Linked DNA regions of Homo sapiens: regions 1, 2, 3, 4, 6 and 7 are each linked to region 5. The links are contacts of gene promoters, found by promoter capture Hi-C in blood cells and fetal thymus (Javierre and others, 2016). All regions are on one chromosome and are shown on one strand. Each heading gives the region's core, a stretch centred on a gene start or on the middle of the fragment in contact. The rest is flanking DNA. Distances are from core to core; before and after follow the strand shown. Region 1 overlaps MTSS1 (MTSS I-BAR domain containing 1). Region 2 overlaps MTSS1 (MTSS I-BAR domain containing 1). Region 3 overlaps MTSS1 (MTSS I-BAR domain containing 1). Region 4 overlaps MTSS1 (MTSS I-BAR domain containing 1). Region 5 holds the start of ZNF572 (zinc finger protein 572). Region 6 overlaps MTSS1 (MTSS I-BAR domain containing 1). Region 7 holds the start of LOC124902016 (a long non-coding RNA gene).

The links. The method cuts DNA at HindIII sites, captures the fragments that hold promoters and counts their contacts. A CHiCAGO score of 5 or more calls a contact.
Region 1: a fragment that was not itself captured here is called in contact with the fragment with the promoter of ZNF572 in region 5 in 1 of 17 cell types (naive B cells); the score reaches 6.1 in naive B cells.
Region 2: a fragment that was not itself captured here is called in contact with the fragment with the promoter of ZNF572 in region 5 in 8 of 17 cell types (naive B cells, total B cells, M1 macrophages and 5 more); the score reaches 8.9 in naive B cells.
Region 3: a contact is called between a fragment that was not itself captured here and the fragment with the promoter of ZNF572 in region 5, in 6 of 17 cell types (megakaryocytes, total B cells, M1 macrophages and 3 more). The highest score is 8.2, in megakaryocytes.
Region 4: a contact is called between a fragment that was not itself captured here and the fragment with the promoter of ZNF572 in region 5, in 4 of 17 cell types (fetal thymus, monocytes, total B cells and 1 more). The highest score is 7.2, in fetal thymus.
Region 6: a contact is called between a fragment that was not itself captured here and the fragment with the promoter of ZNF572 in region 5, in 6 of 17 cell types (fetal thymus, naive B cells, megakaryocytes and 3 more). The highest score is 9.4, in fetal thymus.
Region 7: a contact is called between a fragment that was not itself captured here and the fragment with the promoter of ZNF572 in region 5, in 10 of 17 cell types (naive B cells, erythroblasts, fetal thymus and 7 more). The highest score is 10.5, in naive B cells.

The regions. Positions count from the first base shown.
Region 1 is chr8:124,690,192-124,693,996 of GRCh38, forward strand. The region is part of intron 3 of MTSS1 (MTSS I-BAR domain containing 1); the gene reads right to left. Among named protein-coding and RNA genes, the nearest start is that of MTSS1, 36 kb to the right of the region's middle. The HindIII fragment of the contact is 3,218 bases long and covers 1-3,155 here.
Region 2 is chr8:124,664,931-124,668,619 of GRCh38, forward strand. The region is part of intron 3 of MTSS1 (MTSS I-BAR domain containing 1); the gene reads right to left. Among named protein-coding and RNA genes, the nearest start is that of MTSS1, 62 kb to the right of the region's middle. RefSeq lists a silencer at 3,418-3,689. The HindIII fragment of the contact is 3,711 bases long and covers 153-3,689 here.
Region 3 is chr8:124,706,627-124,710,807 of GRCh38, forward strand. All of the region lies in intron 1 of MTSS1 (MTSS I-BAR domain containing 1), which reads right to left. Among named protein-coding and RNA genes, the nearest start is that of MTSS1, 20 kb to the right of the region's middle. The HindIII fragment of the contact is 2,003 bases long and covers 445-2,447 here.
Region 4 is chr8:124,626,407-124,630,488 of GRCh38, forward strand. All of the region lies in intron 3 of MTSS1 (MTSS I-BAR domain containing 1), which reads right to left. Among named protein-coding and RNA genes, the nearest start is that of NDUFB9, 89 kb to the left of the region's middle. RefSeq lists enhancers at 1-1,071, 1,880-1,939, 1,970-2,019, 3,193-3,242, 3,402-3,696 and 1 more. The HindIII fragment of the contact is 2,938 bases long and covers 685-3,622 here.
Region 5 is chr8:124,971,779-124,975,574 of GRCh38, forward strand. ZNF572 (zinc finger protein 572) reads left to right here and starts at 1,517. Exons shown (of 3, transcript NM_152412.3): 1 at 1,517-1,638. RefSeq lists an enhancer at 1,460-1,619. The HindIII fragment of the contact is 4,233 bases long and covers 1-3,575 here.
Region 6 is chr8:124,646,400-124,650,082 of GRCh38, forward strand. All of the region lies in intron 3 of MTSS1 (MTSS I-BAR domain containing 1), which reads right to left. Among named protein-coding and RNA genes, the nearest start is that of MTSS1, 80 kb to the right of the region's middle. The HindIII fragment of the contact is 5,497 bases long and covers 1-3,683 here.
Region 7 is chr8:124,604,809-124,608,931 of GRCh38, forward strand. All of the region lies in intron 3 of MTSS1 (MTSS I-BAR domain containing 1), which reads right to left. LOC124902016 (a long non-coding RNA gene) reads left to right here and starts at 1,929. Exons shown (of 2, transcript XR_007061088.1): 1 at 1,929-2,289. RefSeq lists enhancers at 548-617, 2,525-2,874. The HindIII fragment of the contact is 806 bases long and covers 2,320-3,125 here.

The DNA of each region.
Region 1 (3,805 bases), core at 297-2,796, 280 kb before region 5:
CGGCATTGATGAAGGCTGCCGAGGTTAGACAGGGAACAGCACACACACATCCAGATGTAATTCAAGTATCATCTGGGGAAATACACTAAAGCCTAATGGGGAAACCCCATTGAATGGAGCAAGACTTTCTCTCTGTTAGGGGTAAGACAATCCTGAGCAGGACAGACACACATGCTTGGGTGTGGAATTCTGATATCCCTCACTGTCCCTGCTGGAGGATTATAGAATTCTGGTGACATCCTGCCCTGAGGATCCAGGATATGTTTTGGTAAATGTGGGATTCCGGTGAGTTCATTCTGGGCTAACACATGATGACTGCCCTTTCAAGTGTCATTCCAGGAAGACATGGTTAAAAGCAAAACACGACTGAGGCAGGAGCACTGGTTGACCACAATGAACAATTCTCTCTGGCAACTGCTGCTACCCAACCAAAGATCAATAATAAAAGGCCACTTGTCAAATGGGGAACAGTGCTGTCGCCAGGCATCAGTTTTTACATCAAGAAAAGAGCAATGGGATTAGAAAGGAGGGATTCGTTTTATCAGCAGTAATGCTAGGCTCATGGTTACAAATCTCCTAAATATACGTACTTGCCCGTCAAAATAATCAAACACATAAGCAACCATAACTCCATCAACTGAAAAACATCAAAAACAAGGTATTTTTTTAAATTTATAAAATAAAAACACTCTTTAAAAATATACAGATTCATTTGTTATTTCTAGTTCTTATGTATAGTATGAGTTGTAAAAATGCTAAAAATGCATGACACCCTACTGTCCTGGGCTCAACACAAAGTCTGAAGTTTCATAGAAAGCACACCCCAAACAATGACAGCTTTAAAAAAAATGGGGAATCGTAAGACAAACTTCACATGCCCGGGCCATTTTTAAAAAGATGTTTTATTCATAGCAGACGTATATGACTAAATACATTGTGCTAACAAATTAAAATGACGCAAGACAAATTGAAGTGGAAAAACACCAAAATGATGAGACCAAAAGCAGACTGTACATTTACAAACCCATTTAAAACAATATTTTTTTTACATCACCTCCCACTAGGGCAATGGCAGCTCTAAAATCTGTGTATAGGAGGGCTTAGGAGCTGGAAAATTTATCTTGAAGATATGCTTACATAATAACCACAGTTTTTAGCTATGTTGCCTATTATTATAAATAGCAATCATTTTTATAGATTTTATTTGTACTTTATGTAAGATTGAGATTATAAAAAGTGCTCAATATAAAAAGTATATGGATACACATACGTACATACATGTACACAAACACATACACATATATACAGTTTAGATGGTTTCAAGAGTTGTTTATTTTTTTTTGAGACCAAGTCTTGCTCTGTTGCCCAGGCTGGAGTACAATGGTACGATCTTGGTTCACTGCAACCTCCGCCTCCCAGGTTCAAGTGATTCTCCTGTCTCAGCCTCCCAAGTAGCTGGGACTACAGATGCCCGCCACCACACCCAGCTAATTTTTGTATTTTTAGTAGAGATGGGGTTTCACCATATTGGCCAGGCTGGTCTCGAACTGCTGACCTCAAGTGATCCACCGGCCCCTGCCTCCCAAAGCACTGGGATTACAGGCGTGAGCCACCGCATCCGGCTGATATACCTTTTTATTTTTAATCAAATGAAGAAATTTGACTACATTCCTTTATGGTAATATTCAAAGAATTTTCAGTTCCAGACCTAAAAGAAGGGCCTTTTATATGATGTTTTTAATTTGAAAAAAAATTGTTTTCAGTTTGAGGCTAAAGAGTTTGGTAAGTAGTAATAAGAAGACAAATATTTCAGGTGATAGATATCCCAATTACCCTGATTTTTTTTTTTTTTTTTTGAGACAGAGTCTCACTCCATTACCCAGGCTGGAGTGCAGTGGCATGATCTTGGCTCATTGCAACCTCCGCCTCCTGAGTTCAAGTGATTGTCATGCCTCAGCCTCCCGAGTAGCTGGAATTAGAGGCCCGCCACCAAGCTCAGCTAATTTTTTTGTATTTTTAGTAGAGCCAGGATCTCGCCATGTTGACCAGGCTGGTCTCTAACTCCTGACATCAAGTGATCCACCCACCTCGGCCTCTCAAATGATTCGAACTTTACACATTATATCAATTTATCAAAGTATCATATGTGCCCCCATAACATGTGGATGCATCAATCTTTTTAAAAAGAAAAAAAAAAAGTTTGCTAGGTAGAAATAGTAAGACTCTAATTACACGAAAGAGTTCTGGGCTTGAACACCAAAGGCAATCCAGAAGTTAAAGGCTAGTGAAGTCTCAATTAAACAATCTGGTTAAAATAAAACTCAGGAGCAAACAAGAGCAGTCTGGCTGGAGCCAGGAAACAACCCAGCTGGGAACCCAAACAACCCAGCACCTTCTCCCCTCAGAGGAAAGATTCCCTCCCCTCCTCCACTCCATCCATGAAGCAGGGTGAGTGCCTTCTACCCAGTTGTCCTTTGCACCAGAGACTTGACCTCAGGGAGGGGTCACCAAGATTCAAATTCTGAACTCCAGGGAGGAATCCTGCCAAGACCCCATCCCAACAGCCCCTTGCTCGAGAACTGACGGGCTTCCCACCAGGATCCATGAGGGCTGCATAAAAGTGGAAGCTACTGTTTGCACGCAGTCGTTCATTCAGCAGATGGGTCTGCACCCTGCTGAAGGCCAGATACTCAGCATCTGGGAAAGTGAGTTCCTCAGGAAGGAGCAGGTCCTGTTAGAGGTGTCTCCAATCTGGTGGGGAAGATAGTGACAGCACAGCTAGGGGAATCCTCTGACCCCAGCATGTCCCCCGAGGCCCTGAGCAAGGACCCAGTTTACTTCCTGAGGGAAGACAAAGGTCTCACAAGTGATACAGCTCTTAAACTCCTGGGAGACAAGCAGCAGATCCTCAAGCATACAAACAGGGTGAAGAAGGGGAGGGCTGGAAAGGACATTCTGGGCCTGGAATGCACATGTGCCAGCAGATAGGGATCAAGGGTTTTAAGGGTTTCAGAAAACAGTGAGCAGTTCTTTGTGGGTGCAGTTGCCGGCCATGGGTGGGGAGATGTCATCGGACAGGTGGGTTATGGCAAGATGGCAAGAGGCTTTACAGGACAGCACAAACATACCTCAATGGAGAGCAACATCTCCTGGAAAGCTTTTCAAAATTGGAGATTCCTGGGTCTCACCCAGTTATTCTGATTCCATGGGAGTGGCAGGGCCTTGAAATCTGTCCCTTAAAGTGAACTTCTTGAGTGACTGTGATGCCTAATGCCAGATCTGGAGACCATGGCATTTACCAAAATCTGTACTGCAAATGTGTAACACATTTGTAAGAACTAAGCCATCAGCAATTTTCTTCACCAACATGCTTCACCAACCTCGGCGATCCAGACTCACTGATTAAAGCGCATGTCTGATGGACCAGCCTTCGATGCCTGTCCTAGAAGGTCCGGCGTCCACCTGCCTTCCTCCTACACACACTCCAAGTCTGAGAGGGGACCTCAACCCAAATGCCCATCTGTAATTTTCCCTTTTCTCTTCTAACCTTCTCTCTCCATTATCTTTGGCTTAATCTTGCTTCCTCCACTTCCTTTGTACTCAGAGCAAAAATTGGAAGCTCTAAAGATAATATAGAAAAGGAAATTTACACTTCATTCATAGCTAATAAGAACCAAGGCAAGATTTTAAATCATAGAATATTAGAGCCAAAAAAAAATTACTTGTGATGATCTAGGCTCCTAGGCCCTTTATAGGTGGGAAAATGGAAGCCCAGAGAAGGGAAATATTTACTCAAGGTCACATA
Region 2 (3,689 bases), core at 758-3,257, 310 kb before region 5:
GTTAACAACTCTGAAAGGCATTTCATATTTTAGTTGGCAGGATTTTTTTTTTCCTTAGTGCTACATAAACTAAAGGTACAACTAAATTGATAGTTCTTGGATTTGAGGAAATAAGCATTTTTTTTATCCCCATCTTATTCATATGAACACTAAGCTTGGAGAGGGTAAGTAACTTGCTGTAATATAAATGTTTGTACCAGATAATCTGGTCAGTAACCAGCACTTAAACTATTTGAACATGTCTATAATAAGAAGCAGGGCTGCCTTCCAATGTTGAAACAAAAATTAGTCCTGCTGTGTCCAAGACATTTCTATCTTTGGAATTCTTTAAAGATTTGCTCAATTCGATAATCTGTTCAGTGACTAATTCTATTTTTCTCTTCGATTCATTCCGTGGGCACTGCCTTCTCTCCTTTTTCCATCTCCGCAGACCTGAGTTCGTAACATTTCATCCACAGTTCACCCACTCGCTCAGTCTCACCTTTGGGCCCCTGGTTACTTTGTCTTCATCCCAATTCTTCATACTCTTCCAGGAAGACTTTGGTGATTTCCACCTGGCTTTTCTCCTCTCTTCTTTCTCCTGGCCTCTCACAGGGCCCTGGCTTGGCCAGGCTGATCTCAGACAGCCTAGCTATAAAAAAAATCTGGCCCCCAAGGCCGGGCACAGTGGCTCATGCCTGTAATCCCAGCACTTTGGGAGGCCGAGGCGGGTGGATCACCTGAGGTTGGGAGTTCGAGACCATCCTGACCAACATGGAGAAACCCCGTCTCTACTAAAAATACAAAATTAGCCAGGCGTGGTGGCGCATGCCTGTAATCCAAGCTACTCAGGAGGCTGAGGCAGGAGAATCACTTGAACCCCGGAGGCGGAGGTTGTGGTGAGCTGAGATTGTGCCATTGCACTCCAGCCTGGGCAATACGAGTGAAACTCCTTCTCAAAAAAAAAAAAAAAAAAATCTGGCCCCCAGAGACAGTCTACAGTGTTGAAGTTCCACTCTACTGCTGATGAGTCTCACGATTTTGGGCAAGTTACTTAACCTAGCTGTGGTCTCCATTGTTTCATCCATAAAATATTAGACCCTATTTCACAAAGCTGTTGTGAGAATTCAGAGACAACACACATATTAATACAATGTGCTCATTAGCACCCAGCACACAGTAAATGTTCAATAGTCTCACTGCATGATAACATTCTGCTTATCTGTTTACAGTCTCCATTAAACTGATCTCCCTGGGGTGGGGACTGGATCATATTTCCTAGCACAGCCCCAGGACAAGCACTGTGGCTAGCTCACAAGAGCTTAAGAAACTGTTGAATCAATGAATAAATGGACACATGACTGTGTGTATAACACATGCAAGGCACTGTGCTCAGGAACACAAGGGCAAGGCAGCCATGCAAACTATCAACTCTAATACAAATGCTAAATAGATGTTCTGGTAATGTGCTGTACAAGCACGATAGAGGGAAAAATTAACTCTGACAGGAAAGTGCACTGAAGAAAAATACTGATGGAAACACAGGAACAAAGACAAAGGAACAAAGATATAAGAGAAAATGGCACAAGCCACGACAAAGAGGCTTAGAATGCATGGTCTAGCATGGGCATCCGGCTAAGTTCGCCACCGGGATCCACAGACCCCTTGAAACTGAATGGAAAACTGAGTGACTATGTACCTTTCTAGGGAGGCAGTCCATAGCTGTCTGTTCCTTGAAGGGGTCTGAGGTCCAAAAAGATGAAGGGCCCCTGTGATAGGGTGTTGGTCATGGGATAGGGAGGGTGGAGGGAGAATGAGGAGGGGTCATCAGCGCAGAGTGAGCCCAGCTGGCCGAGGGTTAGCATACCAGTTGGCAGATAGTGAGCTTTATCATGTGACCATTAATGGGGGTCCTGGGGAGTTTTCAAAGAGGGAAGAGGGGTGATCAGATCTGAACTAAGGAAAGAAAATCCATCAGCAGTAGGGAGAGGAGGAGGTCAATGGAGGAGTTTAGGGGGAGAGTTGAAGAAGCCAGCGGGAATAAGGACAGAAATTAAAATTCCCATTTAAGAAGCAGGGAAAGGTTCAAATGAACCCAAGACAAATCTAGTCTCACTAGTTATATAAAAAGAAAAGAAGAACAGATCTAAGAAGCAGGCTGGGATTCAGGTGGAGGGGAGAGGAGATGGCCACGCCCTGGGTTTCCCCCCATCTTAGGATTTGATTTGAGATGGTGAGTTTGAGGAGAAGGCATGACCCTCATGGGGAGGCGCTCTCCCCAGAGGATGCAGAGCTCACCAGGGGACCAGGCCTGGGGCTGTGCATGGATTCTGGCACCCTCTCAGGGCAACTGTGAAAGCGCGACATGTTTCTGAGAGAAGGCCAAGACAGAAATGGTTAAAATGGTAACTTTGATGTTACATATATTTTACCACAAAAAAAAAATAACAATAGGCCGGGCGTGGTGGCTCATGCCTGTAATCCCAGCACTTCGGGAGGCCGAGGCGGGTGGATCACCTGAGGTTGGGAGTTTGAGACCATCCTGACCAACATGGATAAACCCCATCTCTACTAAAAATACAAAATTAGCCGGGCATGGTGGTGCATGCCTGTAATCCCAGCTACTCAGGAGGCTGAGGCAGGAGAATTGCTTGAACCCGGGAAGCAAAGGTTGTGGTGAGCTGAGATCACACCATTGCACTCCAGCCTGGGCAACAGAAGCGAAACTCCGTCTCAAAAAATAAAAAATAAATAAATAACAACAACTCCGGGAGGAGGTATTATTATCATTTCAGACATGTGAGGAAACTGGGACTTAAAAAGCATCTGCAGTTGGCAAGGTCACACAGCTACTGCACTCCGAGCTAAGATTCAAAGTCTCCAAGCGGCCAGGCACAGTGGCTCACACCTATAATCCCAACACTTTGGGAGGCCAGGGTGGGAGGATTGCTTGAGCCCAGGAGTTCAAGACCAGCCTGGGCAATATGGCGAGACCCTTTCTCTATAAAAAAAAATTAGCCAGACATGGTGGTGTGGGCCTGTAGTCCCAGCTACTAGGGCAGGGGTCTGGGGGACCACTGAGGTGGGAAGATCACCTGAGTTCAGAGGGTCAAGGCTGCAGTGAGCCATGATCGCGCCACTGCACTCCAGCCTGGGGGACGCCACCCTGTCTCAAAACAAAAACAAAAAAAGTCTCCAAGGCTTTCACCTCCACCGCTGGGCTCTAAAACCAAGATGCCAACAGGCCCGGCCAGCAACTGAGGAGGACACAGCGCAAGCGGCCACACGTGTGGGCTGTAGGAAGGTGGTGATTCGCTTTTTGTTTTCTCACAGGCACAATCAGTTCCACGTGCCCTGTCTTGTTAGGCATGTTTTGTTCAGGCCCTAACCCTACCAATGTGTGTTCATGGAGAGTGATGCTGTGGACAGGAGGTGTCACCAGATCTGCTTCATCCAACAGACAGACAAAGCCAGGTTTCCATACCTCAGCTCACATCTACGGCAGGAATTCATCCTGTCCTAGCTCCGTTTGAAAACCCGCCTTTCTCGTTCATGCCCCTACCAGGTCCACAGGTGAACTCCTCCCTCCCTGTCATCATAGCTGGCTAAAAACTTCCCAGTAGCCCCTTTGTGTCAGGATGGAAAACAGACCTACAAGGTCAACTTAGCACCTACCCGTGACACTCTTCGACAGCATGCCAGACTCGGCT
Region 3 (4,181 bases), core at 196-2,695, 270 kb before region 5:
GGCAGAGGCCCTTTGGCAGCTACACCTGAGCTACTGTCAACCAACACCTGTGTGAGGGTCTTGTCACGACATGACCTCCATCCCAAGTGTGTGCCCTGGGGGTTACTTCCACCCAAGAGCAGAACTGTATATTAATTTATGTCAAATGAAAACTTGTGAGAGCTCAGGCTATCATTCAAGGCCCATCAAGACATAGTGGGGACTCCAATTATGACACCCAACATACATACCATTTTTTTAATCCAGTCCAGATAAGAACACCCCTTGTACACCTACATCCAATTAAAGAGATGAGGGCCAAGATCAGAGTCCTCAGGATGGCCACTGGAGATCTCTGTCCAGAGGGACAGCAGTTGGCACCTCTAAGAACACAAAGGCTCAACCAACCAATAGCAGCTTCGTCCGACCATTCCTTCTCTTTCTGAGCCACAAGACACGATGAAAAGCTTTCTGAGAAATCTGAGCATTCAGAAACACTGCTCACCTACTTCTAGGCAAAGGTGCCACCATCTCTCGGCTACACAAGGAAGAAGGACCAAAGAGCCAGACCCTCCTCTCCCAAACACCAAACACTCCCATCCAGGGAGCCCTGGAGAAATATTATTAAGACGATCAAAGTATTTCTTAAGAAAAAGGTGGGCCAGGGGCAGTGGCTCACACCTGTAATCCTAGCACTTTGGGAAGCTGAGGCAGGAGGATCACTTGAGCCCAGGAGTTCAAGACCAGCCCAGACAACATGGCGAGACCCCATTTCTACTAAAAATACAAAAAAAAAAACAAACAAACAAACAAACAAAAAAAAAACACCAGGCCAGGCACGGTAGCTCACGCCTGTAATCCCAGCATTTTAGGAGGCAGGTGGATGAGGAGGTCAGGAGTTCAAGACCAGCCTGGCCAAGATGGTGAAACCCATCTCTACTAAAAATACAAAAATTAGCTGGGCGTGGTAGCAGGCACCTGTAATCCCAGCTACTCGGGAGGCTGAAGCAGAGAATTGCTTGAACCCGGAAAGTGGAGGTTGCATTGAGCCGAGATCGCACCACTGCACTCCAGCCTAGGCGAAAGAGCGAGACTCCATCTCAAAAGAAAAAAAAAAAAACCTAGCTGGGTGCTGTGGCACATGCCTGTAGTCCTAGCTACTCAGGAGGCTGAGGTGGGAGAATCCCTTGAGCCCGGGAGATCGAAGCTGCAGTGAGCTGTGATTGTGCCACCGCACTCCAGCCTGGGCAACAGAGCAAGACCCTGTCTCAAAGAAACAAAGCCAAAGGAAAAGGTGAGGCATGTTCATCGAGAACATGCAGAACTGGCCAGTGGCCTGGGCAGGGAGCACTGGGTCCTGAGGTCTAGTCACAGCCCTGCCAGTCATGGACTAGGGGAAATCATTTCACTTCTCAGGGATCATTCCCTTATAATGATGATAACCAAAACAAATAATTCCATCACCATTACCAATACCATCAATTATTGAACATTGAAAGAATGAAGGAGATGAATAAAGATTGCACGTACAGAAGCCCAATCTCTTGGATTGAACCTTAGCTCTCCCATTTGCTATGCGACACTGGGCAAGTTATTTGACCTCTGCATGGGTTTAAGTCACATCTTCACAGGGCTGAGAGGAGGAACGAATGAGGTCATATACAGAAAGTGCTCGGTGCAGTGCCCAGCACACTGGAAGTGCTCAACAAACATTTGATATGAGGGATCCAAGTGGCCACAGGCTCTCAGTAATCTCCTTTAGGATGTGTGGGGGACAGACTGTAAAGTCTAAGTCAGACTGTCCATCCAGACTGGAACCCCCCTTTTAGAGTACCTGGTGTGGAACCAGCCAACATGGGAAGCATCTGCATCTCCCTATTAGTAAACCAGGGTTAGGCAGAAACAGACCAAGGCAAAGGCAGCTGGGTGTTCAGTGCCAGACAATTTCTCTGCTGCTGCTAAGCAAATGGCAGGGTGGAGTACTCAACCCTGAGATGAGTGTGCCTGAAAAAGACGACTACTCAAACCACTGAAGAAACTTCTTATCTGCCCCCACTTGGAGCGTCATTTCAGTCTTTACCAAATTAGCAACAAAAGGAGGGGTCCCCTTTCTAGTCAAGGGGTACAGCTAACAGCTCCCCACCTACGAACATCCACCCAGCCAGAAGGTTGCCCAAAGTAGCTTGCTGCTGACTTAATGACACTTGACAGTCTATCAGAGAGAGTCAGGCCCACCTGTTTTAGGCAATATATAATTTAATAGATTCTAAAAAAAGAAAAAAAATCAACTTCTAAGAACAGAAGACAAAAACCTCCTTGTTGAGAAATGAAAAAAAAAAAAAGTGAGTAAATGTCATTAAAATTTAAAGGCAAAGTGATGTTGGGTTGTTCCAGATATTTTTGTAAGTTTCTTTCAAGGAAAAAAGAAGTTTCTACCCACCTGAGAGCAGTTTTACTATAATAATTCAAGCTTAGAGGAAGTAAGAAAGGAGGAAGAAGGTAACTAGAAAGATTGAAAGGCAGCAGAGAAAAAGTCCTGCCTTTTGGACAGCAAGACTACATAAAGGAGACCATACTCAAGTTTCAAAAGAAACCCGCAACCCAAGACACTGGAAGCTCTTAGAGCCCTTTAGAAAGCAATTCCCCAACTGTCCTTGGTTTTTGCATCTGCATCCACCCACCAAGAAGTCCCCAGAAAGTTCATTCCTGAGGTTGCTGGCTGAGCTCTGTCCCCATTTGAGGAAATCCCTCGGAATGCACTCCCAGAGCCGTGAAAACAATTCAACACAGACCCCACTGTGGATTTCACCTGAGAACACATAAAGGCTTCACAACGTTCCAGACAGACCCAAATCAAAGAAAACAAAACTCCCGCCACGCCCCGGCTTCTGCCAAGTCCAAAGTCACAAGGCAAAATGAGAAGGCGCACCTCCTCCAGGAGCCCCCTGAATTTCTTCAGAGAGGAGAGCCAGGAGTTTCTGGAGCCCTTGGCAGTGCGTTCGTTGAAAATACAACTCAGATTACACTGGGTTCTAAGAAAGGAAAAGGTCCCTATTAAAGAAACGGGAAGAGAAAGCCAGTTTGTTTACAAGCGTGTAAAGAGGACTCCCTCCATCACTTCCTTGGGTGAGAGATGGGGCTTCCCTGAACACGTGATCTCACCCACACTCCCCACACACACCACACCCTGTGGCTGCTTCTCTTCAAATCTCCAGGGGGATTCAGCAATATTGAAAACTCCTATTCAGCTGTCACTACCCAGCTGTGACACTTCTTCTGGAACATTCTCTGACACACCCCCTTCCCACCTACCCTCTGGTTTAGCTGCACCTACTCCCCAACTTATCACATCATACAGTTTGCTGTCTATAAGCCTGAGGGCTTCCCCTTTGGACTGTGGAACAAGGACTGAGAAATGAAGGGAGGAAGGAAAAGTACTTCTGGTAGGGGGTGCAGCTGACACAAAAGGAGGCAGGGAACACTGACCAGCTCTCTCCAAGGGACACTGGAGTGACACATTTATGCTGGCCACTCCTCCAGGCAGGACATGGGCGAAGTGGCCCAGGTGGGCAAGGGCAGCCTTCCAGGGCAAGACCCAGGGTGGGGACTTGGGACAGGTGAGGAAGACCGGGGTGGCCTTCATTCAGACAGTGAGTGACATAAATTCCAGACCAGACAGGTGATGGGAGAACCTGGCTAATGGTCACATACCTGGCATCACTCTAGTTCCTGGGAGAGAGAGGAAAATAATGAAGTCATTTTCTTAGTTTTTAGGAAAAAGGCCTCCTAAATCTCCTTCAACTGAAGAGTTTGGTGGCCACCTAAACAAATCCACAAGTTGGTCTCCCCCACCCCACCCTCAAAGTGGAGCTTAGGAGACACCGCCGAGTGCCTCTCCTCATCTTCCTCCTCTTCCTCCACTTTCCCTAGAGCCAGGACCCATGGCAGGCCATTTGCCTAACACAAAGCAAGGCACAGCAATCGGCCAACAGCCATTCTGGCTTAGGGTTGTTTGGCTTCGTTTTGTTTCCTATTGAACAGAGGCCCAGGACGGCATCCCACACATGGTGCAGAGAATAACTGTGTGTAGCTCATCAGCACGGCTGGTGACCGGTGCTCCATAAATAATGCAGCAACTGCCTCTCCCAGCCCAGCGCCACTGGGACAGCTGAGGGAATTCAACACCACGCTGCCACACAAGG
Region 4 (4,082 bases), core at 904-3,403, 340 kb before region 5:
TGGGAGGATAGCTTGAGCCCAGGAGTTCAAGACCAGCCTGGGTAACCTAGAGAGACCCATGCTTCAAAATAAAAATAAAAAAACCAAACATGATCCTATAGTCAAAGTAGCTCCAGTCAAAAGGATTTTGAGAAACATTAAATCCAGAAATAGCAATCTTATCCACTGGGCTGGAGGGGGGCAGAGTGTGGGATGAGGATCTAGTAAGGTTCCATTCAACAAGGCGGTTTGTGGGGAGGCATTCAACCTGCCCTTGGGAGGAGATAATGAGGTGCACCCGGTCATGGGAATGGGGTGGTTAGAAATGATTACGGTGCAGTGAGGACCAATCAGCAGGCCGCTACAAGTTCTGTCTGGGACTCTGGGTTCCAGGTTTCTTCCTAGGGGCATCACACCAGCCTCTACTGCAACAGACAAAAGGAAAAGGCAACAAGAATCACATCTCCATGGTGACGGTCACAGAGCCTGATATACGCTGCCCCAACACTAGGAAAGGTCTCCCAAGGCAGGTCCTGTTCACTGCAGCTGGTGAGTCAGCAGCCCGCACCCAGCCCCTGCCCAGCCTGCACACAGGGGTTGGACACGAACCTGTCACGCAACATTGCTTCATTCCTCGAGTCCTGTGCACATTCCCATTTAGCAGGCAGCAGCTGTGTGGCTCACACCAAAGTTTGCACCGAGAAAAGCTTCCAAGGCTGCCACCAGGGTCTCAAAAGAGAAGGTAAGGCTGTGCTTATCCTCCCCTGCAACCTGGTACCTCTGGCCTCTGACCCTGGTGTCCCCACGGCCCTCTGAGCTATCTAAAAAACTGGAATCATCTTACAGTGTTTAAAAACCTGGTTCAATTTAGTTATCAAGTTGGTACTCAAAAGATGAGGGCTGGCTATCAGTGAGAAACTGGGGCATAATCGTTACATTCGCTAACACTGACTGAGTGCCACTTCATGCATTAGGTACTCAACATTTCACCTTCTCCACAACCCTCAAGGCAGGCATCTATCCTATAAAGGAGGAGACCAAGGCTCACGCAGGTTAAGTTGCTGATCCACAGTCACAAAGGGAAAATATGTTGAGGCCAGGATTCAAACTAAGGCTATCAGATTTCAAATCCCTTGTTCTCAACTCTTCCTCCACAGCACAGGGCCACAGCCAAGGAGACAGAGACAATATAAGACCGGGAAAGTAGAGGAGGGTGTCAGGAAGAATTCATGGAGCAGACACGATGGGATCATAGACTAAGCAGCCCTGGGAGATGGCCAGGGGTGGCGGGGGGGTCCCCCAGGGATCACTGAAAGGGTAATGTAAGAAGAGGAAGCTCAGCTAGGAGGGTGAAAGGCCTTAAAGGTCAGCCTGAGCTTCCACAGGCCATAGGGAGTCCGGGAGAGAAGCACAGGGAGACAGTGTGAACTGCGCTTTAGAAAGAAAACTGTGGCATTGCTATTTCCCATAAAAACTCTTACAGATAGAAAACTAGCAGTGACTGGTCGCGGTGGCTCACGCCTGTAATCCCAACACTTTGGGAGGCCGAGGTGGGCAGATTACTTGAGGTCAGGAGTTAGAGACCAGCCTGGCCAACAAGGTGAAACCCCGTCTCTACTAAAAATACAAAAGTTAGCCAGGCGTGGTGGCATGTGCCTGTAATCCCAGCTACTCAGGTGGCTGAGGCAGGAATATCGCTTGAACCCGGGAGATGGAGGTTGCAGTGAGCTGAGATCGTGCCATTGCACTCCAGCCTGGGCGACAGAGGGAGACCCTGTCTCAAAAACAACAACAACAGCAACAAACTAGCAGTGATGAAAAGTACAGAGCAGGTCAGTAATACAAACAGAAACCAAAAGTTTGCTGAGAACGGGTGCTTCCCATCCCAGGCTGCGAGTCTGAGCTCCAAGACATCAGCCGCGTCAGTCTTATCATCCGACTCCCAGATCATACTCCCCAGGACACGGCACCAATTATCTCTTCCAATTAAACCACCGCCACAGGATGCTAAATCCAGTGATATGAACCGGCAGCAGGATGCTTGCCCAGCCCAGGGCTGGCATTTATGATCCTTATTAGCAGGAAAGCTCTGTCTTCTGCTCCCCACGGCTCAGCTGTGGAACCTGGAGCTCCCACCAGCCCCCACAGCAGGTGCTCTGGGAAGGGGCAGAAGAAAATGATGGCAGGACTTGGAGAAGCCAGGACAGCAGAGTCAACAGTTCCAACTCCATTGGGGAACTTTCCCCATCGATGACAGCAATTTCCCTAACATCTAATTATAGGCATTTTGTCAGCTAAATAATAAGTTGCATGGATTAAATGCCTACAGTGAGCCAGGAACTCCAAGAAGTACCTTGTGTAATTTCATCTAATCCTCGCAACAACCCTCTGAGGCAATTCTTCATTGCCCATCCTCATTTTAAAGATGGGGAAACTGAGGCTAAGAGAAACCTGCCATAGGTGGGTAGACCTAGGACTCAAAGCCAGGTGGTGTCTAGCTCCGAAGTCTGCACTTCTTCCATTACACCACAGCAGACCCTGAAAGTAACACACACGGATTTTACAGGATCCCAAAGTATCTTCAGGGAGGTTTTATTTCCCAAGAGGGTCCTTGGGGCAGGAGGGAAATGAGTTAATCATGAGAGCTCACAAGTGCTGGGCACTCATGAGCCAGGCCTAGGCCTAAGCTCTGTGTACACATTCATTCATTCATTCATCTTCATTCTTTCAACAGCCCTGTGCATAAGCACTATCATCACCCCCATTTTATAGATGAGAAAACTAAGGCTCGAATTAAGGAGATTAAGCCACTTAAAGTTACACAGCTAAGAAATTCTGGAGCTAGATGGCCAGGCGCGGTGGCTCACACCTGTAATCCCAGCACTTTGGGAGGCTGAGGCGGGCGGATCACAAGGTCAGGAGATGGAGACCATGCTGGCTAACACGGTGAAACCCAGTCTCTACTAAAAAAAATACAAAAAATTAGCCAGGTGTGGTGGCGGGCACCTGTAGTCCCAGCTACTTGGGAGGCTGAGGCAGGAAAATGGCGTTAACCCAGAGGTGGAGCTTGCAGTGAGCCAAGATCACGCCACTGCACTCCAGCCTGAATGACTCCGTCTCAAAAAAAAAAAAAAAAAAAAAGAAAAGAAAAAGAAAAAAGAAATTCTGGAGCTGGATACTTAGCTATAGCGGTACCTAACTCTGAAGCCCGAGATCTGACCTCTCCCTAAAACAGACCTGAAACACGAGTTCCCACATCCCTGGTTGGTGAGACAGCCAAGTGCCTCCAACGTTAAGTGGCCTCCTGTCCTGCTGGAGGCTGGACAGGTAGTTTCCATCGTAACACACAGAGGCCACAGCCTGCCTGAGGGGAGGGTTCTCTCTCCCAGACACCACACCACAAGGCCACCCCCCTCCATCTGGGAAGAACCAGGGGCCTTTCCAAAGTGAATCATCCGAATAACCAGTCTTTATCATTTTAACTGTCATCTTTTAAAAACATATCACACACACCGTGCGTTCTTAAATGGAGCTACTGCCCAGTGGCTGCTGACTCATCACCCTGTAAAGAATTGAGTCGCTGAGGACAGATGTGGCAAGGCCAAGCCAGCTGCGTCAGCCCCGCTTGCTTAATCCTGTCTGAAGCTTCTTGAAATACTTCACCTGCTCCATGGAATATAATTCATCTTGTAAAATTGCTTAAAACTTTTAGACCAAAGGCATTTACATTTAATTAAATGACCAGGGAGAGTTAACTTCCCTCTACCTCCCCTGGAAGAGGTCACCTTCAGAAGTGACCTATTTCCTCCCTGAGCCCAAAGAGGTTGTGGACCCTAAAGGGCCCCAGTCTAAGCCCACCCCATGCCACTGGGCTGAATGGGGGCCACCACATCTTTTGGCAAGCCATCCATCAACAGAGTCACCAACAGGCAAGCAGCCTGGGCTACCCGAGCAGACTGTCAGCCACATGGGAGGAAAGGTGGGGGTGGGGTGGGAGCAGGAACAGAGGGGAGGACCTGAAAGAGGAGGTGGAGAAAGGCTGGGAGGAAGAAGAGGATGAAAAAGGCCACTTGTGACTCAGGGGGCCTATGGGCCAGCAGCAA
Region 5 (3,796 bases), core at 267-2,766:
GACTGACTAGAGATGTTGGAAGAAAAGGAGGAGAATGTGATGTCACCTCAAAAGAGTGTTTCTAGAAGACGAGTCCGTAGCCATATCAAACCTCCTGAAAAAGGACCCGAGAACTAAAAATACCAGTTGCACTAACTAACATCATGGAGGTCATTGGTGATGCTAGTGATTTTTTTGTTGTTGTTGTTGCAGGAGAAATGTTAAGGTTAGTGGAAAATTGATGAAATGGAAACATTGTGAGTAAAAAGAGAAAAGAAAAGCTGAGGGACTATTTGGGGATGGGGGTGGAGGGATGGAGAGTTTAGTTGGTAGTGCGAAGTTTCCAAGAAGATAGGTAGGAAAGTGAGTACCAGTAAAGGGCTTATTAAAATACCAAAGAGCCCAGCACTTTGGGAGGCTGAGGCGGGCAGATCATGAGGTCAAGAGATCAAGACCATCCTGGCCAACATGGTGAAACCCAGTCTCTACTAAAAATGCAAAAATTAGCTGGGCATGGTGGCGCACACCTGTAGTCCTAGCTACTTGGGAGGCTGAGGCAGGAGAATTGCTTGAACCCGGGAGGCAGAGGTTGCAGTGAGCCGAAATCCTGCCATTGCACTCCAGACTGGTGACACAGTGAAACTCCATCACAAAAAAAAAAAAAAAAAAAAAAAAGGTCACAGAGGGACTCTGTATTGTAACAGGAGGGAAGAAAGAAAACGGCAGGGTGCAGACTTGAGTAGATTTCTGTTTGGTAGAGGTGAGATGAAGGGATTGGCTTCTATTTTCTCTGTAATGAAAGAGGAGGGATTAACTACTTTTCTAGGTGTTAATAAGGGTGCCTTGTAAACGAATTGTTTTATATGTGAATGGATGCCTTAGCTTTCTAACTTTCACAGGTAAGTAAATATATATCCATGTTCATAGCGGTGGGAACAGAAACAATAGGTGTTTAAAAATACTAGATTGAGGCCGGGCGCGGTGGCTCACGCCTGTAATCCCAGCACTTTGGGAGGCCGAGGTGGGCGGATCACGAGGTCAGGAGATCGAGACCATCCTGGCTAACCCGGTGAAACCCCGTCTCTACGAAAAATATAAAAATTAGCCGGGCATGGTGGCAGGCACCTGTAGTCCCAGCTACTCGAGAGGCTGAGACAGGAGGATGGCGTGAACCCAGGAGGCGGAGCTTGCAGTGAGCCGAGATCGCGCCACTGCACTCCAGCCTAGGCAACAGCGAGACTCCGTCTCAAAAAAGAAAAATACTAGATTGATTTTGATTCTAATAGTGATGATAATTAATCTGATGATATTCTGATGGCAAGGAAAAGTATAAGCTCCAATCAGGCCCCTGTCGTAAGCCGCCTGACAAGTGAGAGAAATGAGGTTCACAGTTGGCTGGTCACAGCACAGGGAAAGGAAATCCACCCCCACGCTCCTTCTGGTCCAGGACCCTAAGGGTTAAGATCAACGAGAGTGGGCCATCACTGTTTCCTAGAACGGCCCCAGCAAAGCCGCCGGGGGAGATGAGGGTAACTTCCTGTTTCTGCCTTCCGGGTTTGAGAGTTTAGGACCCTGGGTTGGTGGGGTCAGAGGGAGAGGGGGTACCTTCCTCCCGGACCGCTGGGGGTGCAGGGCGCCTTGGGTGTAGCACCCAGAACAGTGAGTTCCTTCTTGGGGGGAAGGGAGCCGAGGGTTGCGGGCTAGAGGAGTGGAAACAGCCCCGTCCAGGCTGCAGTGGACGTCCGGGAGAGAGTTCCCGCTGCTGCCAGGGGCGAAGGCCCAGCATCTCCCGCCGACGGGCCACCGTCATCCTTGTCCGCGGGGTCCCTTACGGGATCTTGTCGGCCGGAGACCGTCTGGTATCCTGGAACTTCACCCCCCAGCGTCTCCAACTTGTACCAGCCAGCGGTTCTTAAAACTAGGCTTCAGGCAGTGCATTTTCTTTGAAGGCTTTCTGATCAAAGCACGGCCCCACTCTGATCACATTGTTGCTCTAGAACAGTGAAAACACTCCTTCCCCGTGGAGAGACATCTTAATGGCAGCCTTGTATGGTCTTGCATTTGCCACCATTTTGCTGAGCCACTGTTCCGGGGGCTCCTTTGCTGCCAAATTTAATAGTATTTTAGTAGGGAAAATGGGGGAGATGGTAATGTGTTGCCCAGACTCTTGCTGCTTTTGTAAATACTTTGATAACAATATGTAACTTAGGACAGCAAAATATATAACTCCATTCGAACAACTCCACCCCCTTCCTTTTTTTGCATTCAGGTGTATGGTTTTTTCTCCCCCCCAACTCAAACACTGGGGATATTAGTAATGTAGACTAGTTTCACGTTTCTCTAGAACAAATCCCCACTTGCTGAGTGTGCTTAGGGAATGTCGACTCACTTTGTTAACAAGGTTTAGGAATGTAGACCTCTGTTTTAAAATGCCAGTATTCTAAATATTCTAAAATAAAGGGACTCTGAGGATTCTTTGCAGTTTGGGATTATGCCCAGCTCTGCTTCCTGTTCTAGTTTACGATAATAGATCAGAGGGTGAAAAAGGTCAGCATCCAAACAGACTTGGAGCTCAGTCCTGCTCTACCACTTTCTAGGTGACCTTAGGAAAGTTTCTTAATACCTTTCAAACTCATCCTATAAAATGCTGGTAGTTGTTCATACACTTCAGAGGGCTACTGTAAGAATTAAATGACAAATGTGTGCAAATTATTTCATTCACTACCTGGCACATAATAGGCAGTAATGGTGAAGATACAATATAAGTACATATACTATTTTTTGTTTTTAAAATGTGTGCATTTGTATATCCTTTTACGTCCTTATTTTTCTCCCAAATAATGATACTCTTTATATTCTGAAATGGATGCCAAAAGTCCATATGTCACTGCCTTCCTGTGATAGATCACATTTTCTTCTTTTTCTTTTTCTTTTTTCTTTTTTTTTGTTGAGACAGAGTCTTGCTCTGTCACCCAGGCTGGAGTGGTGCAATGGCACGATCTCGGCTCACTGCAACCTCTGCCTCCTGGGTTCAAGCGATTCTCCTGCCTCAGCCCCCTGAGTAGCTGGGACCACAGGCGCCCGCCACCACACCCGGCTAATTTTTTGTATTTTTAGTAGAGATGGGGTTTCACCGCATTAGCCAGGATGGAACATTTTCTAGTCCCTTAAAATAGGTTAGTGATTGTTGGCTCCAGAAGACGAAGTTTAGGCTGAAATGGATATTGTGAATATGATAGACTTAGGAACTAAGTGCAAGGAGGAAGAGGTCCCTCTTTAGCCTCCTTTTTATATTGCAGGGTTATTGGCTATAATTATTCCACCTCGGCTTTGTCCTAATTTCTCTTTACTGGTTATATAAATCCTAACTTTCCTTTGAAATTGACTTCAAAGGTTTCCTTCTGTCAAGACCAAGTTATTCTTTTGAAACTAAACAGGGTGCTTTTTTTCTTTAGCTGCTGCTTATGCCTTCATATTGATTCCTTGAAGTCTTTATAAGTTTTATTATTGGTGTCTTAAAAAAAATACTTTGCTTTTTAAAGTAAAAGTGTTTCTAAGCTACGTGTGGACAATGAGGATTAGTATTCTGTCTTTGAAGCTTGATCCTCAGACCTTTAATGTGAAGATTTACTTTTTTGCATTGTTATTTCAGGGTTAACCCTTAATTCTAAACACTTAGATCTGAGATAAGATTTTCTAAAAGGGCTGCTAAAAGTTGTGTTTCTTATTTTCGGTATGGTTCATGGAACATTCTATGCCTCCTATTGTTGTGTTGGAATGGTTGGGAAGGAAGGAGGAAGAATAAGCTTTAACAAAT
Region 6 (3,683 bases), core at 710-3,209, 320 kb before region 5:
AATCTAAAAATATTTTCCTGGGTCACAAAGAATAACTGAGTCTTGCTGCTTCTCAAATTATCTTTAGATAAGGCATCTCTTACACTTCTACTGACTTTTAAAAGCAAGTTATATCCACAGTTTCATAATTTAGACAACTTGTAAGAAATGCAATAGCAAGATCCCTAGAAACTTAAACTATTACTGAGAAGACAGAAGAATTTGGATGTGATGAAAGCAGGGTTTCTCAAGTGCTTTAAAAGACAAAATGCCCGTGAGTTTTAAACCATCCACAGAGAACAGAGCCATTAGAAAGCTACTGCTTAATATCTTGAAGGAAAATTTGTATCACCTATTTTTCACTAAATAAACATGTTGTATAACCTGCAGCTAAAAGCTATTTTCCTCATGGTTAAAAAAAAAAAATCTGCACCATTACATCTTTCTCTCTCTCTCTCTCTGACAGTCTTCCTCTGTCACCCAGGCTGGAGTACACTGGCTCTACCATGGCTCACTGCAGCCTCGAACTCTGGCCTCAAATGGTCCTCCCATCGAACTCTGGCCTCAAATGGTCCTCCCACCTCAGCCTCCTGAGTAGCTGGGACTACAGGCATGTGCCACCATACCCAGCTAATTTTTAAATTTTCCTTTTGTAGAGATGGGGTCTCACTATGTTGACCAGGCTGCTTTCAAACTCCTAGGCTCAAGTGATCCTCCCGCCTCAGCTTCCCAAAGTTCTGGGATTACAAGCATGAGCCACCACGCAGTCATTCCTCTTTAAATAAAAGGAATTTACCTACATTTTCAAAAACTACTTCAAAGTACATTTTCATACTATTTATGTCTTATGTATGTGCTGAGTAATTCATGTTTGGATACATCTAGATTTAGAGTTTTTTTATGAAATACGATTCTTTTGGGTGGAATTTGTTAGATATCAAAGTTTCTTTTTTCCCCTTAGCTTTATTAAGGGTATAGCTGAGAAATTAAAATTGTTATGTGTTAACAGTATACATGCTATGTTTTGATGAATGTATATGTTGTAAAACGACTAAGATATTTTTTGTAGTGAGAGCATTTAAGATCTAATCTCTTAGAGATTTTCAAGTCTTCTTATTAACCACAGTCACCATGCTATACAATAGATCTCCACAACTTATTCATCCTAAAACTTTGTACTTTTAGCTAACAACAGTGTTTATCCTCAATAAAGCATGTTCTAATATAAAAAAAAAGATGTGTGGCATGTTGAAATATTACTATTTCTTCCATCATGTTTTAGCTCATTTCAAAAGAATTAAATCATTTCTCACTTCTTCAATTGTTACAGCTCGTCAGCTATAAAAATAAGCAAGGCAATTCAAGTTCCTTGAAATACCTGAATGACTATATAGACGTATCCTTGATAACAGGACACAGGATCAAGGTATAAGTCATGTGCATTAAAATCCAGAACTCTCTAAAATCAGAGGCCGAACAAGAACCTCTGGAGCCACCTACAGGTCCCCATGGGCTGTGTGATCCAACCCATCACCAACAGTGGGGTCATGTCCTGAGAGAACTCAATCTTAAAAACAAATGTCTCCAATCAACCTAGCGTTTCAAGAGTAGCAAGGGGAATACAGTTTACCAGCAGGCCTAAAGCAGATTTAGCCTCTATAGCCTCTGCAATCCTATTTATGGTGGGCATGGACCATCAGCTTCTTTATTAATGTCTGAAATCAAGAGGTGGCAAGACTCACCCCATCCCAGCATTTCAAAGCCTTTTATTAACAGAGGAAAAAACTGGGGCAAAAGAATACCAAGGAGCTACCAGAGTTGCTCCAAAGATTATGAGTTGATGTTCAGAAGCAGATGAGTGATCCGGTGAAAGGGTTTGTTGTTACTATTACCTAGTGTTTTTGAATTTTTTTTTTTAAGTATTTCAACACACCAACAATGGACTCTTTGGGTGCAGTTTAACTTTAGCTCTCTTCTGTTACAAAAGTTTTGGGTGGGCTACAAAATAAGGAGTTGCTTAAGAAAACCTCACATCCTCCAAGCAGCACCACATCAACAATGAATTTCGTCTCACTGGAAGCTCACTTTGCCCTCTCTCCCCTAACTCCTCAGGCCCCCAAAGCAGCCCATCACAGCTCCTTAGTAGAGGGATAAAGCCAGCATTTGTAAAAGGGAGCCCTATTTCCCAGAGATATATTACCTTGGAAAGGCTTGGGGGTCTCCACATCAAAGTTGGTGGGAAGCACAGTGACTCCAAGAAAGTCCAGCCGTTTCCCTACTCTCTCCTCTCAGGCTCAGGATTATAGGAAGAGTCTTCATCCCAAATAGCAGCCCCCCCCCAGATACTGACCAGACGGTGTTCCAAGGAAAGGTAAGTGAGAAAATGTGAGAATCCAAGGCCATGGGGACTGCTGTGAGATGGACACCACAAGGCCATCAGTACGCCATGATGAAAATGCCATCTTTATCCAATGCCCACTGGGCCCAGGTCTGCACTCATCGAGTACTATGGGGTCCACCCGGGACTACCCTCAAGGAGCTCTACAACATCCAGCCTCTATGAGACATACTCCAAGTAGGAATGGATCCAGATTAATCTTCTCCAAAACAGAGAGTTTCCCTTTCTATCTGTTGTGGGCAACCTGCCATCCTTCATAAACTTTCCAAAAATAATAGTATTAACAATAACCATTTCCATTTAGACCAAACCCTAAATCAAGAGCTGGCAAACTATGGCAGCAGGCCAAATCCGGCCCACTGCCTGTTTCTGTAAGTAAAGTTTTATTGAAAGACAGCCAGGGCCATCTGTTTATCTATTATCTAGGGCTGCTTTTGCTCTACAATGGGAGTGTTGAGTGGTTGTGAGAGAGACGGTAGTCTGCAAAGCCTAAAATATTGACTGTGTGGCCTTTCACAGTAAAAGTTTTCCCTGTGTGGTACAAAGCATGGAAACCTCTAAGGAGAGGTGTCCATCATTATCAGCAGGAAGCAGCCCTTCCCTGAACAAACCCCCAGCACAGAGCAGCGATGGAGTCGGGGGCGCTGAGATGGGAGCTATGCTTCCTGACCAGCTTTCGTGACAATCACATGACCCTGGCGAGCCTTGGCACCTCTGGCTATACAATTCAGGCATCAATACCTACTTCACAAGGCTGTCTTGAGGGTCAGCCAAGACAGAGTACACAAAAAGCTCCCGGCACAGGCAAATTACTCCTCAAGGTGCTCCATTAATGGTAATGACCCTACTGACCACTGTTACTCAAGAAAGAACACAGGACTAATGTGAATCCCTGCAATACTCATCTTCAGTCATTAAGGTTCCTACTGCTATGACCTCGAAAAGATCATAGACTCAGCACGACAACCAAAAGAAAGGACGCAAGGCTCTCTCTGTGTTGAGTCATAGAAAGGCACAAGGTCAGGACTTAATGTTCTTGTGCTTGGGGAAAAACACTGAGCTGTTTCAGGTTGGAATCTTTCAATTATCAAACTTACGGCAGCCTCCTAGATATGGAAAAGACTAAGAGCATTGTCACCCAGGGTCTGTCTCCGAACATTGTATCTTTCATCCTTTTAACAGACAGCAATTGGTACAAGGTATTCCCAGACAGTGGCCAAACTACACACAGGCCAACAGAAGCGCTGAAGAGCCTTTTTTTTTTTTTCCCTCGAGATGGAGTCTTGCTCTGTCACCCAGGCTGGAG
Region 7 (4,123 bases), core at 1,473-3,972, 370 kb before region 5:
CCACTTCTCAGTCTCTCCCACTTCACGACTTTTCAAAAAGCAGAGGAAACAAAACCCACACACAATCCTACCACCATCTGGCGGCTTCAGACCAGCAAGCATGAGATTCTGGCATGCACCGTACTGGCAGCCACAAAGACCAATATTCCTCTTTGTTGCTGTTTTAAAAGCAAAGCGAGAATGGTAATATGGAAACACAAAAACACGGACACGCTCACACTATGGGAAAACCATATTAACAGCAAACACATTCCGACAGGGAGGCTTCCCTGTCTACGTTTTGGATGGAATGGTGTCTGGTTGCAACACCCTGTGGGGGTGTCACCTGGGAAATGCCAGCTGTCTCCCCGACATCTGCCACCATGAACCCCCCATTGCCATGGTCTGCCTCTGCTGCATGGGCACAGAAAGATGCTCCTGCTGAAGCCAGGTCTGAGCGACTCGATGACGCCAGCTCCTGCCAGCGAAGCAGCTGTGGCCTGATGCAGAAACCACATGTCATTTTCTTAGTTCACAAAATTTAACTGTCGGGTAGATAAGATGCTCACAGTATCTGGATCAGGGATTATCTCCCAGTCAGCCTTCTTGGGTTGTCAGGTAATTCAGAAGGTGGCCAGATGAATATGGAATCAGAATCAGGGAGTTAGTGTTCTAGGGATCAGAGTAAGAGCCTGCTACATCTATCCCTGACAAAGGGATGGCTCTAAGCTGGGACTCTGCGGAGACAGCCCTCGCACTGCCTCCCTCCCTGCCCTCTCGCTGCCTCCCTCCCTGCCCTCTCGCTGCCTCCCTCCCTGCCCTCGCGCTGCCTCCCTCCCTGCCCTCGCGCTGGGCTCCCGTTGGAGATCAGAACTCCCTGTGATAAACATCTATCCTTGAACCCGCTAGCACCTAAAATCAGGTTTCATGCATGTGTCACTGGCCTAAGAGCTACTTTATTCCTTTAAGAGGTTTCTGTACATCCCCAAACTATGCCAGAATATAGCGACTTTATCATCTCTTAGGAGGTAATCTTGCAGTTTTTCATATTATTAGGAATAGCTCCCATTTACTGAGTGCTTGCAACATGACAAACCCTTGCAGGAATGTTGTATTCATTTTTTTAAAATCTCATTATACTCCTCTTATAGGTACCATTATAAAGTAGGTATCTCATTTTTTTTTTTTTTTTTTTTTGAGACAGAGTCTCACTCTGTTGTCCAGGCTAGAGTGCTGGGAGTGCAGTGGTGTGATCTTGGCTCACTGCAACTTCTGCTTCCCAGGTTCAAGAGATTCTTGTGCCTCAGCCTCCCAAGTAGCTGGGACTACAGGCATGTGCCACCATGCCCAGCTAATTTTTGTGTTTTCTGTGTTTGGTTTTTTGTTTTTTTTTTTTTTTTTTGAGATAGAGTTTCACTCTTGTGGCCCAGGCTGGAGTACAATGGCATGATCTTGGCTCACTGCAACCTCTGCCTCCTGGGTTCAAGCGATTCTGGGATTACAGGCACCCACAACTACGCCCAGCTAATTTTTGTATTTTTAGTAGAGACGGGGTTTCACCGTGTTGGCCAGGCTGGTCTCAAACTCATGATCTCAAGTGATCCACCTGCCTCAGCCTCCCAAAGTGCCGGGACTACAGGCACAAGCCCCTGCACCCCGCCAAAAGTAGGTATCATTATCCTCATTTTACAGATGAGGCCAAGGGTACTCAGAGAGGTTAAGTAACTTGCCCAAGGTCACACAGAATTCAGAATTTACATCCAGGGCTGAGTCGATAGCTAGAACTTTCAACCACTCCATTCTTGGGGGCATCTCACTGTTGCCAGGACATTACCAACAGAAACATTTGGCAGATAGGGAATTAGGTTTTCTTCCCCCACCCCCGATCCTATAACTGGGAGAAAATAAGAGCCCTTCCCCCGAACATCTGTTTTATCAGCCAGATTCAAACCGTGCTGTCGCCACTTCCTCGCTCAACTGTGTACAGTTGGCCGGTCTGCATCCAAGGCCATGAGTTCAGGGTGGACATGTACTGTCAGGCTTCAGCAGGAATCACCTCCTGCCAGCTTCCTTTGGCAGGGTACACTGCTTATTCATGCAGAGGACCCCTCCTTATTTGCCAGGACAATCTATCCTGAAATCACCCTTTCAGCCACTGACTCCCCTCCGCAACCTGTCTTAGCAGGAGGCATCTTCAGGACAGCTTCCCAGGGATGGCCCTGGGAATCATGCTTAGCTGAATTCAGGATCCTGTTTTCTAGAAACTGACGTTTTAGAAACAGCTTCAGACATAGAAGGAGCTCAACAAACGTGAGTAAGTGGAACCAGGCAGACATGCCAAGCTTCGCGTTCTACGCTCGTAATATTTGCTCTTCCTCGATTCTCTCCTGGCTCCTCCTCATCCCTCTTCCCCATTTTTACTGCACACCTTTACTGAGTTAAAGTTCTAGAGGAAAAGTGGCTGCAACTAAGCCAAGACTCTATCAAAGGCCCTTGAGGGATACAGGCCAGGGACAGAGGATGCATTCTGCAGTTGATTTCCCGGCCAAACTCATCTGGGGTCATTTAAACTAACTCGTATACTATCTTCTTCTCCTCCTCTCTATCTCTTCAATTTCTATCTCAAGTCATACCTTCCCCAGATGGTTTCTGAATGAGTGTCTGGATGGTTTCTGATCTAAACAGAGTTTTTAAAAAAGGAATTGAAATTCTAACCCCGGAATAGCAAACAAGAGGCTGGCTTTTACCATTCAACAGAGAAAGCAAGTATGAGGCTTGCGCAGGAGAGAAAGCAGCACCGTGACACGACCAAAGTGCCCTTGAGTCCCTACAAGCTAGACAAGCCCGAGCCTCCCAGCCTCCATCTATTCAATGGAAGGGCATAACTGGTTTTAGTTTCTAGCTCCCAAATCGAGTCTCAGGTCAAGCAGTGGTAATGTGAATCCAAAAACTATTCTCAGTAGGTCTAAAAGCCTCTTTACTGCTCAGGCTAACTTAAGCACTCACAGTCCTTTGCTTTCTGTTGGAATTATATAAAGCCCGATAAAAATGACCCCAGGTTAACAGTTATTATATATCTCTACAGAAAAGGGGGGGCTTAATTATTACTTAAAAATGTAATTTGTTCGGTAAATAAGATTTTACAAAGCTTGAGGTAGGTCAGTAGAGATTGGTAACGTGGAGAGTCCTCAGTGGTTAGAAGCCACTGCTGGAAGTGGAAGATAAAATGTGTATTCCCAAAACATTTTCCCAGTCTTGCCCAATTACCATGAAAATGGGACATGATTCTAGCACCCTGATGACCTTCTGAGGTTAAACTAAACTGCTCTGTATTAGATGCCCCTCTGAGAGCTGGTCACATCATGTAATGAAGACTTTACTAGATAACTCAAGCCACTCTGGTTCCTCTTCCAGTTCTCCTTCTCCTGCACTGTTTTCTTCCCCACACCCACTTTATTAACTGTGTTCTTCTAACAAAATGCAGATAAGAATAACTACCAATGAATGACTGAAACCTGACTGTGGCTCAGTCATCAGTTAGGAAGTTGCCAGAAGGCAATGGGATTGTGGGACACAGGGGCTGACCACATGTCCCATGGATGAGCACTGGAGCCAGGGTAACATCATGGCCTCGCCTCCTCCAGCAATATCATGGCCTCGCCTCCTCCGACAAGGTCATTGCCCAACTGCAGAGAACCAGTAGGGTCTGGTTTATCGCCACTGTATTGTGCATGTTCAGGTTGCCGACATCTTTTCAAGCAGTGGGCCTGAGTGTTCCTTCCCACTGCCCTGGGGTATGATGGGGGTCCTAATTCCCAACACTTAAGGCCTATGCAAACAGCTGTTTCCTTGTTTTTTATGTTAGTTACTTTTTTAGAATGAGCTCTTCATAGACAAAGGCAAGGATGGTAAATCAGTTTATCTCTTGGGCTAATTCTGATCAGGTGTATGGATGCCTGGGGCACTGTGTGGAGGGTGCTGTGGGCAGCTATGCGCTAGATGGAAAATGGATTGGCTAGATCAGCTAGTAATGTCTGCTACAACCGCAGGACAGTGGAAGGATGCAGACTCTGTATTTGCTACCCTGGGCCTAGGATCTCAAAAGAGAGCTCAAGACACAACTTATTAAACTTCAGTATACACA